Linked DNA regions of Homo sapiens: regions 1, 2, 4, 5, 6 and 7 are each linked to region 3. The links are contacts of gene promoters, found by promoter capture Hi-C in human tissues and cell types (Jung and others, 2019). All regions are on one chromosome and are shown on one strand. The core of a region is centred on a gene start or on the middle of the fragment in contact, and the rest is flanking DNA. Distances in the headings are between cores, read along the strand shown.

Region 1 (2,820 bases), core at 201-2,700, 490 kb after region 3:
GTTTAACTTAAGCACAATTTGTTAAGGTTAAGCAGTTTTAACAGATCTTGGAGAAGAATTATTTCTGTCAATAGCATAATCCATCAAAATAAAGTAGAAATGAAGAGTTCTAACCACATTAGGTGACACACAGTCTGCATTGCATTAATATGGTAATTTTAGAAGTGTCACAGATACAATACTTGCAAGATTATGCATTGACATCTTGAATGGTTAACCAGAAGAATGTAATGGTAAAATTTCCAGGCTTGCCAAACAATTCCGGAATTTTTTTTTTTTTTTTTTGATACAGAGTCTCACTTGTTCGCCCAGGCTGGAGTGCAGTGTTGCAATCTCGGCTCGCTGCAGCCTTCATCTCCTGGGTTCAAGTGATTCTCGTGCCTTGCCTCAGCCTCTGGAGTGGCTGGGGTTACAGGCGTGCACCACCACGGCCGGCTAATTTTTGTATTTTTAGTGGAGATGGGGTTTCGCCATGTTGGTCAGGCTGGTCTCAAACTCCTGAGATCAGGTGATCTGCCCACCTTGGCTTCCCAAAGTCCTGGGATTACAGGCATGAGCCACCATGTCTGGCCACAATTTTTGAGGAGGACTATGAAAGTAGGATGGTTATGGGCAACAGAAGTTTATAGAAAGATGTGTTTATGAGGGTGATTCAGAAGCAGTATTTACATGATGTCATCATGCATCCTAAGGAAAAAACTGTCTGAACTTATGGCCTACTTTTCCAGAAGGCGGCAAAGCTTTTGTCAAAGAAAGTGGAGCTTACTGCCAGCTGTTGTGGGCTTTCAAAGAGCAGGTGATGCTGGATTGATTCAATTTTTTTTTTCTATGTTGGGGTTACTAGGACAAGAGGAAATATATATATATACACATGCACACAAACACACACACACATACACACATATATATATATAACTTTATAAAGTATCATGTAATATTTTTTATAATTTATCTTTAATTCCAATAACTAGGTTACATAGATTCTAAAGTTCTGAATCCTATAGGCAAGTGGTTCAATTATTTTATCCATGTCGTCTAGATACCTCCTTATTTCTAAATATTATTTCTTAATTTTTTCAATATTAGATGTTGTTATTGATTGTCTCACAGATGCCATCCCTAATGACGTACATACCTTGCCCATATTCTCCCAATATACTTATGTCATATTTTTTGGTTCAATAATTTTTTTACATTTACAGCTTTATGGCTGTGGAAGTATTGTTTACAACCAATCTATGAGAGCACTGTTACTGTATTTCCTTTTTAGTATGACTCCATCATTCCTTCCCTCAGAATTAAAAATTGCTGATACTTGATTTTTAAAAAAAATTCTTAGTTATCAATATACCTTTCATTAATTTTTTTTCCTCAAGTCCAACAATTAAAAAATTTGTCATGATATTAGGTAATTCTGTGTTTAGATTCCTTTTCTGCTGGATGGCTTAGTTTTGCTAAGTCATTTACCATTTGTTTATTCAATTCTCATCTTCCAAAATGTTGACATCTCTAGTCTACTGTTTCCTCACCTGTTCTCTTTGTCCTTTCTTGTTTCCTTTGTCCTTTCAGTGGGGTTTTGGAAATAAATAGAGCTAAATGTCTCAATTTTTTTCTGCCATGTTAAACTAGATGTCTATGTTATACATTTTTATTTCAGCAGGGCATTTATTTGACATACTTTTGTGTATTCTGGTAACATATAGAAATGTGCGGTGACTGAAAAGATAATTAAGTAGATTTGTCATTCCTTTAACCATCTTCATAAAAGAGAATGAGTTAATGGATCATTGCCCTCATTGATGCTAAACAGTAGAATTCTGTATTTTGGTCCTATCCACTTCAACAGTGAATTGGATCAAACCTTTGAAGAACATACTGATGAAAGCTGTACACAACACAGTGCTTTGGGTGGGGCAGCTAATATGTATTGCTGGTTAACAGAATCAAGATTCAGCATTATATTAAATAAGCAAAGAGTTGAACAAAAGTCCTAACCATGGTTCACAAACCAGTTCTACTGTACAATTTTAGATTTGACAACTAGATTAGCAAAAATTAATATGAAAAAGATGACTGTAAGTTTAGAATGAGACAAGAATGGTCCCAGGCTTCCCAAAAGTTTATGGTAACTTTGAGTAACTTAATATGTGAAGTCCAGATCAACAAAAGTAGTTAAGTTTTAGACTTATAAGGAACTTTAGCATTGTCTAGTTCAACTGTCATCGTTTTAAAGATGAGAGAAATTAAAAATTAAGTGACTTGGTCTAGGGAGAACAACCAGCTTGTCACAGAATTGGAACTACAGCCCAGATCCAAGACATCACAAGTAGCTATTTCTATTATATGCCATGTAGTCTTACCGGTTACTGGTTAAATGTATAGTTGAAATACCACAAGCCAGAAAAAAATAGTTACAAAAGACATCAGAATAAATGTCTAATTATAATACAAAGATGATAGTCATTAGCATTTAATATAATTACATGTTACCAGAAAAAGAAATATAAATAAAGTATAAAATGATAACTAATGATCTTTTAAGTGACACCATCTAGTTTTTATGGTGGATCATCCCCAACATTAATCGTCAGAGATTTTCCAGGGGGTGAGGAGGAAAAACATTGGTAAATTAATTATTGTGAAGTTTAATATTATACTATTGCAAAGTAAATTTAGAGCAGAATCAAAGTGGAGGATGTTATAAACACTATGCCTCTTTCAAATAAAAGGCTAGGGGTAGATTTCCATAATTACCTAGCCATTTATTCATTTAACAAATTGTATTGAGCATCTGGTTTTTTGGCAGGCATTTAGCTAGGC
Region 2 (2,717 bases), core at 95-2,594, 320 kb after region 3:
CCTAAACCAGCACTCCCTCCCCCAAGACAAAGCAGCAGGGGTGAAATTAACTCAAGGCTGCAGAGCAAAGCCTAATACAGAAAAGGGAGGCCTGTAGGGGCTTGGGGACTCTCCTCAACCCCTTAGGCTCTGGACACATGGCTGGAAACAGACAGGCTTTCTTCCCTATCTTTCTCACTCTCATTTAGGTAGGGAGCTGTTTCTTAGAGAATTTAATCATCCGTGATTTGTTCAGAAATATTCCCCCTGAAGGGCTCTGATCTCTCCACCCTGTGTGAGCCTAATTCCTCGAAGCTGAAATGACTGTTTGCTGCTGCCTGTTTCACAAACACACATTAATTGGTCAGATGTGTCTCCTCCTCCTCAACCCCAGAGGGAGGAAGGAGAATCTGAGCAAAGCACAGAGATGATCCAACCGTAATTACACATAAAGGGAAAAGAGGGCAGCATGGGTTTTCCAAACAGGATAGGGTCACAAACCCTCCCGGGGGTACAAGGATAGCAGTTGAGGTCCAGGCCCAGGGATCCCTCCATCTTGAAGAAAAGGACAGGAGTAAATGTGACCTGAAGACTGTTAGGGGCACACACCCACAACCTACTTACTGCAGGATCCCAGCCACCTTGCTCCCCACTCCTAGGTCACGCACACGTCCTGCTTCCGACCCTATGCTCTGAACAACCACCACCGCCCCCGCCCCCCCTCCCCCGCCAACTCCCTGACTGGCCCCAGTCGCCCCGAGCGCCCTCAACATACCCAGACTCGCCTCAGAAACTCTCTGGCCTGCTCCCATAACCTAGCCAGACCCTAATCCCCTCCCGGGCACCCCTACCCTCAGCCTGAACCGGCCGTGGCCACGCTTTGAACTTCACCCCGCGCCCCTCGACGCCCCCTCCCCCACCCACGCAACGACCCCCCCTACACACCTTCCCCTCGCTCCGCCCCAGCCCCCCCAACCCCCACTTCCTCCGTCAGGCAGCGCCGCCGCCCCCGGCCCCCATCAGATCCCCTCAGCCCCGCGCCCCATCGGTGCCGCCGCCTCTTTCCTCCCCCAGTCCCGGCTCCACACAAAGCTCCGGACTCACCGCGCGGCCGGTCCCGGGAGCCGCCACCTCCGCCCGCCCGGGGCCCCGGGCCGTAGAGCCGCCGCTGCTACGGGGCCCAGGCCGCCATCCGTTCCCGCGGCCCCTCCCCCCCACCCCACCCCGGCTCCGGCTCCGGCTCCGGCTCTGGCTCTCTGCCCCCTCCCCGCGCCTCTCCGCCCCGCCCGGCCGGTGCCGCTGTGTCCGGGGCCGCGGGTCCCTCAGCCGCCGCCACCGCCGCCGCCGCCGCGATCCGGGACAACCAGAGTCACCCGGAAGACGCGGACACTGGACTGCCAGGCCCTCGGATCCGGATTCCGCGCTTGTGTGGAGTCTGGAGCCGGTGAGCGCAGGGGAAACCCGGAACCTGGATGAAGGAGCGAAATCCTGGGTCTCGGAATGCGCGCTCACCCGGAGCCCAGATTAGGGAGTCTTAGCTCAGGGAATGCTGGAAAACCCGGCGTGCCGGTTAGAACCAAGATAAACTCAAAGAAACCTGGATTAGAGAGCTCGAACCTAACGCTGTCCCCTCGTGGGCAGTAGAACTCTCGCTGGATCAGACTTCCTCATAGAGAGGTCTCTGGGGGGAGTATTGCACCTTATAACACAGAAGACACCTCTTCTGTAGTTGTCCTTCAACCACAGAGAGGAAAGGGCCGTAGGGGATCTGAACATGGGCATCCACAAAGAACAGAAGAGCAATCACAGCTCCTGATGGTTTCATCCATTTTACCCCTTAGTTCAGCAAAGTACCAACCTCCTAATTTTTTATCCTTTGTTCTCCAGCTTTCTCTTTTAGGATTACCACTTGCTTTTCTCCCCAAAGCACCCATTTCTAATCCCTCTATATATCCCTTTTCCCCTCACCATCCTCTATCACTAAATCTTGTTGCCTTTTATTATCTAAAAACCTTATTCTGTCCTTCTCCAACCCACCATTCTAAGGATTGTAGCTTTTATTTTTCCTTATCTGCTATTCATCTCTGATTGCCCAGCATACTATCTAGTGCACAGTAGGCATTCAGTCCATGTTTAAGTGAGCCCTCCCACCCAGCTTTCACTTGTGAAACATCTATTCATGACGACCTCCTAAGACTTCCATCTCATTCCATAGCAAACAAATTTACCTTAATTCTCAAGGCCTCCCACATCCTAGCCCCTATTATGTCCTTCCTGTGTCCTTGACCATTTTATTTTGCTTTGCATTTATCTTACCTTTTTTCCCTTATCCTGGGGCATCCTTCAACAGTGCCACTCAAGATAGCATGTGACTTGGAGATAAAGTGAGGTCATAAAAAGGTGGGGGGAGGGGTTGATAGCTAAAGATAAAAGTAAACCTTTCTGGTCTAGGAAAAATAATCTCTCTTTGGTCCACCAATAGTCATGTTGTTAGACAGTACAGGGGCAGAACTGATCCCAGGTGACAGCGAACTTCCAATGTATACTAGACAAAGTTACAAGTGAGGATTCAGCTACTTAGCAGGTGGAGACAGAGAAGGGTTTAGTGTTTTAGACTTAGGCATGATTTAATTAAGGATTAAACATTCCAGTAGTCATCTCCCACTGAAGGAGCATGACTCTGCCATTGGAGAGAACTAGACTGCAAAAATAGGGAACAAAGGAAGGTAAACATTCCT
Region 3 (2,721 bases), core at 28-2,527:
TTTCTTTTTTTGAGACGGAGTTTCGCTCTTGTTGCCCTGGCTGGAGTGCAATGGCAAGATCTCGGGTCACCGCAACCTCCGCCCCGTCCAGGAGAAGGGGCACTGAGGAGGGACCCAGTTCTCCCGCGGCTCTGCCGGATTCAGGCTGCAGCGCTTCCAGCGCTCCCCGAGGTGGGTGCGGGTTTCTACTGTGGCAGCAGGGCGGGCCCCCATCGGCTGGGTTTTCAAATAGAAGAGAAAACCGACCCAGAGGCCGCGCCCTACTGACCTGCGCGGGGGTGCGGGGGGAGTCACGACGACCTCCCCCACCTCCCCCAGCCTCTAGGCTATTACATCCGTCCCCAGCCTTCGGGCTCAGAATAGGAGGCAGGGAAAGGTGTGAGGGGCACTGAGGTCGGGGGAGGAGCGAGAAGACCCGAAAGCCAGGCGTGTTGAGGGCAAGGTGGGCAACAGAACCTTCTTGGTCATTCGAGGCAGCCCTCGCTAATGACCATTGGGGTCCCAACACTCGAATCCCCACCTAAGTCCTATTCAGATAGTGACTGGGAGTGGGAAGGGAGTTTGAGATCCTAAGTCCCACCCTCTGGGCTGGGAGCCTGAGGCCAGAGAGGGGAAGTGATTTCCTCAAGGTCACTCAGCAAAACAGCGCCCAGCCCGGGCCAAAGCTCAGGTGTCTCCCAACCCCCTCCCCCCGGCCATCACCCCCAGAACTCGGTCCCCCGGAGCTGAGGTCTGCGCGACTGGATTTAGGGGCAGAATGAGTGCGTCGGGAACCCCAAAACCCTAGATCAAGATACAAGGGGAGTCGACGGCCCGGAAACCTCGCTGCGGGTGCCCTAAGCGCGAGGCCGCCCGGGCAGGGCCGCCCAGGGACCGGGGCGCTGGGTGCGGGGCACGGGGCTCCACCTCCCGCGGGCTGGGGCGCGCAGCGCGCGGCCCCTTTAAGAAAGTTCGCCGGGCGAGTTCATCAAAGTTTAAAAACTCGCCGTGGAGAAGGGCGCGGGGGAAGAGGAGAGAGGGAGAGCGCTGACCCAGGCGAGAGAGAGGGGAAAGGCCCGGCCGGAGGCCGGCGCCCCGCGGCCGGGGCCGGGGCGAGCCCACGGTGGGCGGTGGGGATTGGCTGCGCGTTCCCCCGGAGACCGCGCGGCGGGCGGGGGAGGGGGCTGGCCGGGCCCCAGCTGAGGCCGGTTCCGGCCCCGCCCCCCGCCGCCGGCGCCCGCCCCCTCCCCCGGCGCCCGCCCCCCGCCGCCGCTGCCGCCGCCGCCGCCGCCGCGGCGCACTCGCCGGTCGCAGTGAAAAGGCGGAGGCGGCGGCCCCTCCGGCTCCCACTGCCTCCCCCGCCGCACCCCCTCCCCACCTTCCGCACCCGCCAAACTTGATGTGACCCTGGCCCGACGCGGAGGCTGCCCCTCTCACTGCCCCGTGGGTCCCCCGCCACCCGCTCCGCACCCGCGAGCGCACCGCTCCCCGCGCCCCTTCCCACTTCCCGCGGGGCCGGCGCCGCGCTCGCCCTCGCGTTCCTTCCCGCCGCCCCCTCCCCCGCACCATGAGCAACCTGAAGCCGGACGGCGAGCACGGCGGCAGCACCGGCACCGGCTCCGGCGCGGGCTCCGGCGGCGCCCTGGAGGAGGAGGTGGGTCTGTGGCCCCGGGACTTGCCGGGTGAAGCGCACGCCAGGCGGGCGCGGGAGAGGGCGAGCGGGGCCTGCCGCGCCTCGCGGGGCCGGGGTGGCCATCGCTCCCGGCGCCTTCCCGCCGCTGCCCTCTCGCCCGGGTAGGAGCGGCCCGTGTCCGCGGGCGGGAGCGTGCGGCCTGGACTGCCCCGCCGGACAGGCATTGTCTCCCCGCCCTCTCGGGCTCGAGGCGGGCCGCGCGCGCCGGCCGCCGTCCGGGCGTCCCGCGGTGGGCGAGATGCGCCGCGTCCGTTCCATGCCTGCCGCCCGCGCGCCCCTTGCTCCCCACCCCGTAGCCGCTCGCCGCCCTCCTCCGAGGCGCACCTCCTGCGTGGCCAGGACCCCGCCTCGGCGGCACGGAGCGGAGCGGGATTAGCACGGCCCGAGGGCGGCACCCTCACTCCACTGCCTTTTCCGCCCTGACCCCCTCCCCGTGACCTTGGAGGCCTGGGCCGGCCGGCTCCTCGGTTCCTGCGAGCTGTTGTCATGGGGGTGGGCGGGCTTTCTTCACAGCCCCAGAACCTGGGCTTTGGCAGAGGTGAGCCCACAATTTAATTAGTTTGGAAGATGACTAAAGACACTCAGTTCGTCCTTCTCCTCTCTCTGGGTTTGTCCTGGCAACCAAGCCAGGACCCCAAAGCTGGCCTGGGTGGGATCCTGCCAGGAGGGGCGAAATCATCTCGTCCACCGGCCATGTGCGAAAGGGAGGGAGTGTAAGGCGGCTCCGTGGAACCACCAGCAGCTGGGTGGTTAATGGATGGTAGGGAGGATGTGTGTGCGGGGTGGGGTGCTGGATAAAAGCCTCAAAGATATCAGTGAATAGGGACGAGGAGCTAGGCTGGCGGAGACAAGAACTGGAGTAGAAGGGGACAGGCTTCGCAGGGCCTCTGGCCTCTGCTGCGTCATTCTAGGGGTGAGAGAGCCTTCCTGCCCCTGCCCTGGCATGTTCTCGCCCAGGAAACCAAGGGCTGGTTATCCACCTTGGGCGCCCTTCCCCTTGGCCTGGGGGAGAAACCGCAGAGCCCCTGGTGTGGACTGGTGTTGCCTCC
Region 4 (3,045 bases), core at 411-2,910, 470 kb after region 3:
TGGGGCTGGGCATGGTAGCTCATTCCTGTAATCCCAACACTGTGGGAGGCCAAGGCTGGAGGATCTCTTGAACCCAGGAGTTTGAGACCAACCTGGGCAATATAGTGAGACCTCGTCTCTACAAAAAAATATAATAAACAAAAATGTACAACAGGTAGAACAGACGAATTTATGAAATTGAGATTAGTTGTTTTCACTGAAAAAAGTAAGGGATCTGAAGGTGTAAACCCAAAGACAAATTTTATTTATAATTTACTTTTTAGTTGTAGGATCCAGTCATTTCCAGAGATCAACGTTATAAGGAAATAAGATAAAAATAAGTATTATAGATTAAGTGGACAGTGTTTTCTGTGCCTTTTTGGCAAGTAGAAGACGAACATTTTTTTCCCTGACCACATAAGCGTAAGTTGCTGACAGGCAGGGCGCGGTGGTTCACGCCTGTAATCCCAGCACTTTGGGAGGCTGAGGCGGGTGGATCATGAAGTCAGGAGGTTGAGACCATCCTGGCTAACATGGTGAAACCCCGTCTCTACTAAAAATACAAAAAATTAGCCAGGCGTGGTGGTGGGCACCTGTAGTCCCAGCTACTCAGGAGGCTGAGGCAGGAGAATGGCGTGAACCCGGGAGACGGAGCTTGCAGTGAGCCGAGATTGCACCACTGCACTCCAGCCTGGGTGACAGAGCGAGACTCCGTCTCAAACAAAAACAAAATCAAAAACAAGTAAGTTGCTGACAAGATGTTTCATAAGTCCCCGTACTTTAGTGTACTACTAAAATGTAGTCTGAAGATTAGATATACTGTGGTGTGTATGTATATATATATGTACATGAAATACAGTAGTGTATACTAAATAGAGACAGGGTTTTGCCACGTTGTCCAGGCTGGTCTTGAACTCCTGGCCTCAAGTGATCCACCTGCCTCAGCCTCCCAAAGTGCTGGGACTACAGGCATGAGCCACCATGCCTGGCCAATATTTTGTAGTTTTGAGCATAGATTTTTGTACAGGTTTTGTAATATAGCTTCCTAAGTTTCTTGTTGCTTTTTTTAGATAGAATTATTACTTTAATTAACAGGCTTTATTTTTAGATTTTTTGGGTACAGTTTTAGGTTTACAGAGAAATGGAGTGGAGAGTACAGAGTTCCCCTATATCCCCCAACACTCCTCCACCCCCGTTTTCCCCTATTATTAATGTCTTGCATTACTATGCTACATTTGTAGTAGTTAACGAACCAATATTGACACGTTATTAACTAAAGTCGGTAGTTTACATTAGATAGAATGTATTACACTATTTGTATTATACATTCTATGGATTTGGACAAATGTATAATGACATGCATCTACCATTATGGTATCATACAGAATAGTTTTCCTGCTCTAAAAATCCCCTGGGCTCCACCTGTTCACCCGCCCCCCTCCCCACCCACAATATCTGGCAACCATTGATCTTTTTACCATCTCCATAGTTAGGATTTTTCTAGAATGTCATGAATTTGGAATGTAGTATTTAGCTTTTTCAAATGGATTTCTTTCACTTAGCAATATGCATTTTAGGTTCTTCTATGTCTTTTTGTAGCTTTCAATAATTCATTTCCTTTTATTGCTGAATGATATTCCATTGCATGGCTATACCACAAATTTGTTTATTCATTCACCTATTGAAGGAAATCTTAGTGTTTTCATTTTTTGACAACTACAAATGAAGCTGCTGTAAACGTTTAGGTGGTGGTTTTTGTGTGGACTTAAGTTTTCATTTCATTTGGGTCAATACCAAGAAATGTGCTGGGTCATAGGTAAGAGTATGTTTAGTTACATAAGAAACTGCCAAACTTTCTTCCAAAATAGCCGTACCATTTTGCATTCTCACCAGCAGTGAATGAGAGTTCCTATTGCTCCATATCTTCCTTAGCATTTGATGTTGTCAGTGTTTTGGATTTTCACTATTCTAATAAGTGTATAGTGGTATCATTGTTTTAATTTGCAATTCCCTTCTGACATATGGTATTGAGTATATTTTCATATATGTATTTGCCATCCGTATATCTTCTTTGAAGAGACGTCTGATTCAAATATTTTGCTCATATTTTAACTGGGTTGTTTTCTGATTGTTGAGTTTTAAGAGTGTTGTATATTTTAGATAACAGGCCTCTAACAAGTTAAGTGTTTTGTAAATATTTTCTCCTAATCAGTGGCTTATCTTTTCATTCTCTTAGCAGTGCCTTCCCCAGAGCAGAAGTTTTTAGTTTTAGTGAAGTTAAACTTAACAATTTCTTCTTTCATTGATCATGCTTTTGTTGGTATATCTAAGAAGTCATTGTCAAACCCGAAGTCATTTAGATTTTTTCCTATGGCATATAGTAGGAGTTTTATCATTTTGTGTTTTACATTTAGGTTGTGATCCATTTTGATTTTATTTTTGCGAAAGATGTAAGGTCTGTATCTAGATTATTTTTCTTTATTTGCAAATATATGTCTAATTGTTCTAGCACCATTTGTTAAAAAGACTATCCTTTCTCCATTGAATTGCCTTTGCTCCTTTGTCAAAGATTGGTATGAATATATTTGTGTGAATCTATTTCTGGGCTTTCCATTCTGTTCCATTGATTTATTTGTGTTTTTTTTTTTTTGCAATATCACACTGTCTTGAGTACTGTAGCTTTATAGTAAGTTTTTTTTTTGTTTTTGTTTTTGTTTTTTTTTTTTTGGAGACAGGGTCATACTGGCACTATCATAGCGCACTGCAACCTTGAACTCCTGGGCTCAAACAATCCTCCCAGTTCTGCCTCCTGAGTAGCTGGTTCCATAGGTGTATACCACCTTGCCCGGCCAATTTTTATTTTTATTTTGTAGAGACAGGATCTCGTTTTGTTGCCCAGGCTGTTCTTGAACTCCTGGGCTCAAGTGATTCTCCCCACTGTGGCCTCCCAACACACTGGGATTACAGATGTGAGTCACTGCACCTGGCCTTTTGTTTTGTTTTGTTTTAGCTTAAATGCATTTCAAGCCTTGTATTGGTACTCAAATTGTCCTACAGTGTCTTTTA
Region 5 (2,973 bases), core at 468-2,967, 310 kb before region 3:
ATGTTGGGCGAATGGTTTCTGACCTCCTATAGAGTTGGCAAAATTGTGTGTGTGTACGCATGAGTGTGTGATCTGAAGGGCCCAGGTGCCCAAATACCATTAGAGACTAACTCCTTTGTCTCCATCTGCTGAATCTGCGTGCTGAATGGGGTGTGTGTGTAGAGGAACTTTCCTAGAAAAAATAAGGATGGAAGCCTGGAATCAGGGAGGGCAGCCTGATGATGGGTCACCATGGGGAAGCTCTTTCATGAGTGCCCTGGAAGGCAGCACAGGAAATAACATGTTAGGATGGGAGGAGGATTCCAGAGAAGCAGGCTTTAGGTTGGGTGGTCCACTTGCATTGCTTTGTCTCCAGGAAAGTTGCTTTCCCCTAACCTGCGACCTGGCTTTCCTTCCCTGTGAAGAGAGGGGTGGAACTAGAGGCTTATACCCTGCTCCAAGACCCTGCAGCCCAACAAAAGGCCCATTTTCCCTTTGTTAGTTACTCGAATGCCAGAGAGAAGGGCTCCCTCTTTTCATGCTTCCCCAGTCCAGCTGGGGCAGAATCATGAGGGCTGCAGAGGACGCTGCTGGGACAAGACCTCCTCTAGGGGGGTCCTGTATCCCATGCCTATTACTGGCCTGCTGGGGCCAGCCTGTCTTCTGACAGCTGTGTCTCCCACCAGCACAGTTAATTTGCTGCCGTTCCTGGGATGTGACAGCAACTTGAAGCAAAGCAATTAGGATGAAAAAGAGGCCCCAGCTCCTTGAGGCCAAAGGAAAATAAACAGAGCAGCCCTGTGTGTATTCCGCCGCCAAGAGGAGCCATTCTTCAAGGGATGATTAGCATTTCTAATCCCAGCTTCCTCCCTTCCCTTGAAAGAAAAGTGACCGGTGAGCGGCTGCTCTTTTCAGATCCCACTCTTCCCAAGGTGGACTGCAAACTTGACAGCTCGTCACCTCCACAGAAAAGTCTTCCCTGGCCACCTGCCACAGCCCTGCCAGAAATGATACTCCTGTCCTCTGAAATCTGAGAGCCTTTCTCTGTACCTTTCCTATGGAGTTTCCTTGATTGACTGATCAATTCATTAATGCATTCTTTCAACAAACATCCGTTGAGTGCCATTCATTCATTCAACAAATATTTCTTAAGTCCCTACTAAATAAATCATCTCTTAAGCTGCCTACTACGTTCTAGTCATTTTTCTGGGTCCTGATGAGAGAGCAGTGAACAAAACAGAAAAAACCCTCTGCCTTCGTGGAGCTCAAATTTTAGTAGGAGAAAACCAACAGCAAACAAGTGAAAAGATAGCATGGAAGATGATGCTAAAAGCTATGCAGAAAAATAAAACAGGAAAAGGGAGGAGAACATGTAGAGAAGGGGGAGGTAGATTTTAAGTAGGGAGGTTAGGAGAGTCTGTAGGATCGAAGTGACATCTGAGCCAAGACCTGCAGGAAGTGGGGTGGGGCTGAGGCAGTGCGCAGGCAGAGGGACACCAGCCACACACCCTGAGCCCGGAGTGTGCCTGGTGCGTCTGAGGAGCAATGAGGCCAGAGAGGAGTGGGAGGAGATGAAGTCAGGGAGGAAACAGGGTGGGAGAGTCTGAAAGGACTTTGCCTTTCAGAGGGGGCGCACCAGGCTCTGACTGGCATTTTGTTGAACTAGGATGGCTCTGGCTGCCCTGTGAGCACACTGAAGGGAAGCCAGCAAGGAAGCAGGTCCTTGGTGGACAGGGGTGGGGCAGCTTCTCTGCCTCTGCCAGGCGGGCTATATAAACCACATAGGATGATTTCAGGGAGAGGAAGGCTTGGGGTGCAGGACATCTGGAGTCAGGGGCAAGGAGAACGTTTGTGGAAGACTGGAGAGAACTCCAGAGAGTTGGGCTGCAGGGCTGCCACCAGGTTCAGGAAAATGATCCCTGCAGCTTTAAGCTGTGTGAGTGTAGGCCTCTCAGAAAGGACGGACTTCTCAGAGTAAACCTCTGGGCTGGGACAGAGAGATTTCAAATCCAGCCCTCTGAGCTCAGTAACTCCTAAGTGTTTCTGTAATTTGCCCAGCTGCACCTGGTTTGTGCCCCCCACACCTTCATGCAATAGTCAAGCCGAGATGCCGGGGAATGAGAGGCTGAGAATCCCAAGTCCTGAGTTCAAGTCCCTGCTCTTCCACTTAACTGCCTGTGTGACTCTGGGTGAGCCAGCCATTCTGGCTTTCTGCTGGTTTCCTCACAGGCACCCCAGGCACAGTCACCATCCCTGCTGAGGGTGGTGGGCAGTGGTGACACATGCTGACTGTGGGTGGAACAAAGCCTTAACTGTGAGAACCCTTAGACAGAGAAGGTGGGCTGGGTTACAAAGCTTCCCCACACTTCCTGAGACGAGGGAAGTATCAGTGAACGTGCAAATATCCCCCAGGGCCTAAACCAGTCATTACCTGGGCTGAACGGGGCTACTGGTCTCCCAGGTCTATCCTAAGGGAAGAGAACTAGTTAACTTTCCTATGGAAGAGGGAAGAGAAAGGGCTGAGTCCAAGGGAACAAACGAACCCCCAAAAGAGGTGGGGATACATAGAGAAAGGCAAAACGGAGGGAGTGTTAAGGAGACCATTGGAAACACCCTGTCCATCTCAGGATGTCGGCCAAGCAGGCATGTAGCACAGAAGACAAGCCTGTGGCCCTGGGTTCACAGCCAGGTTCTGCCACTACCTAACGAGCCTCTTCTAATCACATGACCGTTGAGCTTTTTTCCCTCCATTAAGCTGCGGGAGTAGGGGTGTTGCCAAACTATCTGCCACTTAAAATTCTCAAAAGCTCAAGTAAGTCAACTGTGGGAAAGCTCTCTGTGAACACTGTGTTATTATTACGCACAAAAGGCATCTCAGAAAGGGCTGCCCTGGATGAAGGGAGGAACAACCAAATGCCAGGAGCCAGCAGGCTGGGGCTAAGCAGCCCCAAGTGCAGACAATGCTGTGGGATAAGAGAGACTAGGAGCTGATGG
Region 6 (2,819 bases), core at 185-2,684, 410 kb before region 3:
TTCGCAAAAAGTAAATAACTCAAGGAGTTAACTCCTCCAGTGTAAACTATTTGAGCTGGAAAACTGCACTTGACTTTCTTTTTAAAGCGTCATTAATCTGTCAGAAAACAGCTGAAAGTAGGTGTGATGTGGAAGGGCTGATGTGACCACAAGTATTTGCCATCACTTTCCTGGTGAAGGATCCATTTTCTCACAGGGATAATCTCAGATGGCTCTGGGTTTTTTTTTTTTTTTTTTGAGACGGAGTCTCGCTCTGTCGCCCAGGCTGGAGTGCAATGGCACGATATCGGCTCACTGCAACCTTCGCCTCCTGGGTTCAAGCAATTCTCCCACCTCAGCCTCCTGAGTAGCTGGGATTACAGGAGTACGCCACCACACCTACCTAATTTTTGTATTTTTAGTAGAGATGGGGTTTCACCATGTGGGTCAGGCTGGTCGCAAACTCCTGACCTCGTGATCCACCTGCCTCGGCCTCCCAAAGTGCTGGGATTACAGGTGTGAGCCACCACGCCCAGCCGGCTCTGTGCTTTTGAATTCATAACTTGAGAGGATGGCCTGATAGGAACCTGACCAGAGGTTATCTATGCAGTGCCATCCTTAATCACGGCCGGGTGCGGTGGCTCACGCCTGTAATCCCAGCACTTTGGGAGGGCGAGGCGAGAGGATCACTTGAGCCCAGGAGTTTGAGACCAGCCTGGGCAACATAGGGAGACCTCATCTTTACTAAATTAAAAAAAAGAAAGAAAGAAAAGAAAACCCTCAAGACTTTAAAGCACCCACGGACTAGCAACAGCTAGAAGCTTTATCACCACGAGGCCTGAAAGAACAAGGAGACGGAGCTGTTACCAACTAACAATTGCTGCTCAGGGAACTAACTGACAATACCAACTCCATGTTACAAGTGATGAAACTAAGGAGAATGAGAAGATAAGGAACACAGGATGTGGAATTCCGGGGGAAGAAATTTAGTGAATCTGAAGCATCCAGCGCCTACCAAGGCACTTTAGAGACTTCCCCCTGGAGGGTTAAGCCACCAGCCTCACCTTGACCTTCCCTGCCGCCCACTAAAAGTGACCGGAAGAGCTCGACTATGACGACTCGGGACTACAAGTCCCGGCATGCATCTCTCCGCGTCTATCGCAAAACCTTTCAACTTTAGGATAAAAGGGCTTTTGGCAACCTTGAGCGTCGGGACCTGTAGTCGCCCCAGTTGGGGCTAGACGCTTGCCGTAGGGAACTCATTGGCGCCCAGGGCACCACCCCCTCGCCTTCGCCTCACGTAGCTTCACCAGCTCGCAAACACGGCGCGTGCCCACGCCCTCCGCCCCCTCCCCGGGCCTAGGGCGCAGGCGCGCGCAAGCTCCCCGGGCCCAGTAGGCTGGGGGTGGGGGTAGAAGGAGAAGGAGGGGAAGGGAGGGGGGGGTTGGGTGTCTACTCTGGTGAATAGACGGCTGTGGGGCAGAGAAGCGTGAAGGCCTGGCTGCCGGGCAGGTGAACTCTCCACGGGGTCTAGGGCCCGCGAAAGGGTTCGGAACCGAGTCAGCGCGCCTTGCGGGCAGGATTCACGCCGCTGTGACCCGGAGGTCCTCAGGGGGCGAAGCCCCGGCCTAGGCCTCGCGGAGATGCCCAGCTGCGGTGCTTGTACTTGCGGCGCGGCGGCCGTCCGGCTCATCACCTCCTCACTCGCCTCCGCGCAGAGAGGTAACGAAATAGTGCCACTCCTGAGCCCTCAGCCTGTCGGGGGGGGGGTGGACTGGCCAATGGTTGGGGGCCCCGGGGAGGGCACGAGGCCTGCTGCACCCGGGGAGTGTGAGGGAATGCGCGGCGCTTCGCCCGGCACCCACCACTTTCCCCGTGGAATGGGGCTCTGCCAACCTCTGGAGCAGCCGTTGCTCAAATTGGAAGTAAACTCCTTCCCACGCGCCTGCCTGCACGCTTTCAGGCCTGCTGACTTTGGGGCCGGAATGCGGCCACTTTGTAGAAACCCTGAAAGGCACAAAATGCTCCTGTTATTAAAAAATGTCTCCAGATCCCACTCAGCCCTGCCGGGGACCGCCGCCTGCCATGGCTGCGGCTCTTCTTCCGCAGCCTGGCCGGGATCCCCCTCGGGCCCGTTGGGGGCTCCAGGAGGGGCTCGGCTGAGGATCTGTCCCTACTAGGGTCCCCCAGGACTCGGGGCACCCAGCTGGCCGTCCCGGACGCAAGCCGCGCGATACCCGAGATGTTACTATCACTGTGCGGCCCTGACACTGGGACATAAACAAGGTTCACAATACTTCCCGGCGTCAGGCAAGCCCCGGGGCCCGCAGGACAGCGGCGGGAGAGATGGGGAGAAGTCCCGCAGGAGTTGGTTCGGAAGTACTTGGGTGTTTCAGCAGTCCTTTGCTGGCTTTCCCAACTTGACCGGGAGGTAGTTTCCTAAGAGTGGCGCATGTTGTTTACCTTTTCTTTCTGTTTATCTGAAGCTGTGAAAGAATGGCGCCCCAGCCAAGAGAGTCTGGAAAATAAACTTTTTTTCTCTTCCTCAAATCTGTGGAAGTCAGACCACGAGGCTAGATCCTGTTATAATGACTGACTTCTAGACAAATTCGTTTTATTTTGGCTTATCGGTTTATGACCCTTGGATGGATTTTTAAAAAGGCCCCTTTTATCTAACTTCTAAGCCAATTATAAAATCCTTATTGTTTACTAAATATATCTTCCAGTTTCTTTACTACAGAAGGAAGGATTGAATGAGGTAACGTGGGCAGAAGCATTTTGTAAAATGATATATAAATGTAAGGGAGTAAATTTAATCCTAAATCGATGTTAAGCCTCAA
Region 7 (2,781 bases), core at 92-2,591, 500 kb after region 3:
ATATACAGTGCAGTAAGTTCTCACTTAACTTCATCAATAGGTTCTTGGACACTGTGATTTTAAGTGAAACCATGTATAAAGAAACTAATTTTACAGTGGGGTAATTGATAAAAACAAGAGTTAAGGCCAGGCACAGTGGCTCATGCCTGTAATTTCAGCACTTTGGGAAGCCGAGGTGGGTGGATCTCTTGAGCACAGGAGTTTGAGACCAGCCTGGGCAACATGGCAAAACCCTGTCTCTACAAAAATTAGCTGGATGTGGTGGTGCATTCCAAGATTTCTTGAGCCTAGGAGACTGAGACTGCAGTGAGCTGTGATTGCACCGCTGCACTCCAGCCTGGGCGACAGAGCAAGACCCCATTCCAAAACACCACCAGACCTGCCTTACAAGAGATCTTGAAAGGAGCAATAAATATAGAAAGGAAAGACTACTACCAGCTAATACAAAAACATACTTAAATATACAAACTAGTGAAACTATAAAGTAACCTCACAAACAAGCCAGCATAATAACCAGCTAACAACACATTGTCAGGATCAAATCCATACCTATCAATACTAGCCTTGAATGTAAACAGGCTAAATACCCCCATTTAAAAGTCACAGAGTGGGGCCGGGCGTGGTGTCTCACACCTGTAATCCCAGCACTTTGGGAGGCCGAGGTGGGCGGATCACAAGGTCAGGAGATTGAGACCATCCTGGCTAACACGGTGAAACCCCGTCTCTACTAAAAAATACAAAAAAATTAGCCAGGCATAGTGGCAGACGCCTGTAATCCCAGCTACTGAGGAGGCTGAGGCAGGAGAATGGCATGAACCCAGGAGGCAGAGCTTGCAGTGAGCCGAGATTGCGCCACTGCACTCCAGCCTGGGCGACAGAGCAAGACTCCATCTCAAAAGAAAAAAAAAAAAGTCACAGAGTGGCAAGCTGGATAAAAAGCAAGACCCAATAGTATGTTGTCTTCAAGAGACCCATGTCATGTAATGATATCCGTAGGCTCAAAATAAAAGGATGGAGGAAAATCTACCAAGCAAATGGAAAATAGAAAAAGGCAGGGATTGCAGTTCTAATTTCAGACAAAACAGACTTTAAACCAACAAAAATCAAAAAAGATAGAAGGACATTACATAGTGGTAAAAGGTTCAATTCAATAAGAAGACCTAACTATCCTAAGTATATATGCACCCGACACAGGAGCACCCAGATTCGTAAAGCAAGTTTTTAGATACCTACAAAGAGATGTAGACTCCCACACAATAATAGCAGCACTCCACTGACAGTATCAAACAGATGATTGAGGCAGAAAATTAACAAAGGTATTCAGGACCTGAACTCAACATTGCACCAAATGGATCTTACAGACCTCTACAGAGCTCTGCACTTCAAAACAACAGAATATACATTCTTCTCATCACCACATGGCATATACTCTAAAATCAACCACATATTTGGACATAAAACAATTCTCAGCAAATTCAAAAGAACCAAAATCATATCAAACACATTCTTGCACCACAGTACAATTAAAATGAAGGCCAAGGCTGGGCACTGTGGCTAACACCTGTAATCCCAGCACTTTGGGAGGCCAAGGTGGGCTGATTGCTTGAGCTCGGGAGTTCAAGACCAGCCTGGGCAACATGGCGAGACCCTGTCTCTACTAAAAATACCAGAAAAAAATAGGTGTGGTGATGTGCACCTGTGGTCTCAGCTACTTGAGAGGCTGAGGTGGAGGATTGCTTGCGTCTTGGGGAGGCGGAGGTTGCAGTGAGCCAAGATGGGGCCATTGTAGTCCAGCCTCGGTGACAGAGTGAGACCCTGTCTCAAAATAAATAAATAAATTGGCCGAGTTCAGTGGCTCACACCTGTAATCCCAGCACTTTGGCAGGCTGAGACAGGCGGATCACTTGAGTTCAGGAGTTCAAGACCAGCCTGGCCAACATGGTGAAACCCTGTCTCTACTAAAAATACAAAAATTAGCTAGGTGTGGTGGTACATGCCTGTAGTCCCAGCTACTCTGCTCAGGAGACTGAGTCAGGAGAATCACTTGAACGCAGGAGGCAGAGGTTGCAGTGAGCTGAGATCGTGCTGCTACACTCCAACCTGGGAGACAGAGCGAGACTCTGTCTCAAAAATAAATAAATAAATAAAATACACACATACATAGTAAAATAAAATAGAAGTCAAGACTAAGAAAATCACTCAAAACCATGCAGTTACATGGAAATTAAACAACCTACTCCTGAATGACTTTTGGGTAAATAATGAAATAAAGACAGAAATCAAGAAGCCCTTTGAAATTAATGAGAACGAAGATACAACATACCAGAGTCTCTGGGACACAGCTCAGGTAGTGTTTTTTTTTTTTTTTGAGACGGAGTCTCACTCTGTCACCCAGGCTGGAGTGCAGTGGCACGATCTCTGCTCACTGCAAGCTCCGCCTCCTGGGTTCACGCCATGTTCCTGCCTTAGCCTCCCGAGTAGCTGGGACTACAGGCGCCTGCCACCACGCCCGGCTAATTTTTTTGTATTTTTAGTAGAGACGGGGTTTCACTGTGTTGGCCAGGATGGTCTCGATCTCCTGACCTCGTGATCCGCCCATCTCGGCCTCCCAAAGTGCTGAGATTACAGGCGTGAGCCACTGCGCCCGGCCACAGCTCAGATAGTGTTAATAGGGAAATTCATAGCAATAAATGTCCACATCAAAAAGTTAGAAAGATCTCAAATTAACAACCTAGTATCACAATGAAAATAATTAGAGAAACAAGAACAATTCAACCCCAC

The links. Contacts are between HindIII fragments. The study calls those that stand out against the background at their distance.
Region 1: a fragment that was not itself captured here is called in contact with the fragment with the promoter of RBPMS2 in region 3 in 1 of the 25 tissues and cell types used here (lymphoblastoid cells).
Region 2: the fragment with the promoter of ZNF609 here is called in contact with the fragment with the promoter of RBPMS2 in region 3 in 2 of the 25 tissues and cell types used here (adrenal gland and liver).
Region 4: a contact is called between a fragment that was not itself captured here and the fragment with the promoter of RBPMS2 in region 3, in 2 of the 25 tissues and cell types used here (adrenal gland and lymphoblastoid cells).
Region 5: a fragment that was not itself captured here is called in contact with the fragment with the promoter of RBPMS2 in region 3 in 3 of the 25 tissues and cell types used here (IMR-90 fibroblasts, lymphoblastoid cells and spleen).
Region 6: the fragment with the promoter of CLPX here is called in contact with the fragment with the promoter of RBPMS2 in region 3 in 1 of the 25 tissues and cell types used here (mesenchymal stem cells).
Region 7: a contact is called between a fragment that was not itself captured here and the fragment with the promoter of RBPMS2 in region 3, in 1 of the 25 tissues and cell types used here (lymphoblastoid cells).

The regions. Positions count from the first base shown.
Region 1 is chr15:64,286,645-64,289,464 of GRCh38, reverse strand. The region is part of intron 2 of CSNK1G1 (casein kinase 1 gamma 1); the gene reads left to right. Among named protein-coding and RNA genes, the nearest start is that of CSNK1G1, 68 kb to the left of the region's middle. The HindIII fragment of the contact is 7,080 bases long and covers 1-2,820 here.
Region 2 is chr15:64,459,205-64,461,921 of GRCh38, reverse strand. ZNF609 (zinc finger protein 609) reads right to left here and starts at 1,344. Exons shown (of 10, transcript NM_015042.2): 1 at 1,084-1,344. It overlaps LOC105370861 (a long non-coding RNA gene), which reads left to right and starts at 1,335. Exons shown (of 3, transcript XR_932367.3): 1 at 1,335-1,423. RefSeq lists silencers at 1,013-1,112, 1,173-1,292 and an enhancer at 1,753-1,822. The HindIII fragment of the contact is 20,496 bases long and covers 1-2,717 here.
Region 3 is chr15:64,774,145-64,776,865 of GRCh38, reverse strand. It overlaps RBPMS2 (RNA binding protein, mRNA processing factor 2), which reads left to right and starts at 1,277. Exons shown (of 8, transcript NM_194272.3): 1 at 1,277-1,633. The coding sequence starts at 1,547. RefSeq lists enhancers at 1-569, 570-1,416 and a silencer at 852-1,101. The HindIII fragment of the contact is 13,175 bases long and covers 1-2,721 here.
Region 4 is chr15:64,305,357-64,308,401 of GRCh38, reverse strand. The region is part of intron 1 of CSNK1G1 (casein kinase 1 gamma 1); the gene reads left to right. Among named protein-coding and RNA genes, the nearest start is that of CSNK1G1, 49 kb to the left of the region's middle. The HindIII fragment of the contact is 8,039 bases long and covers 1-3,045 here.
Region 5 is chr15:65,081,232-65,084,204 of GRCh38, reverse strand. No RefSeq gene overlaps it. Among named protein-coding and RNA genes, the nearest start is that of KBTBD13, 6.0 kb to the right of the region's middle. The HindIII fragment of the contact is 8,916 bases long and covers 1-2,973 here.
Region 6 is chr15:65,183,957-65,186,775 of GRCh38, reverse strand. It overlaps CLPX (caseinolytic mitochondrial matrix peptidase chaperone subunit X), which reads left to right and starts at 1,434. Exons shown (of 14, transcript NM_006660.5): 1 at 1,434-1,701. The coding sequence starts at 1,623. RefSeq lists a silencer at 1,186-1,495 and an enhancer at 917-1,801. The HindIII fragment of the contact is 6,593 bases long and covers 1-2,819 here.
Region 7 is chr15:64,270,347-64,273,127 of GRCh38, reverse strand. All of the region lies in intron 2 of CSNK1G1 (casein kinase 1 gamma 1), which reads left to right. Among named protein-coding and RNA genes, the nearest start is that of CSNK1G1, 84 kb to the left of the region's middle. The HindIII fragment of the contact is 4,787 bases long and covers 1-2,781 here.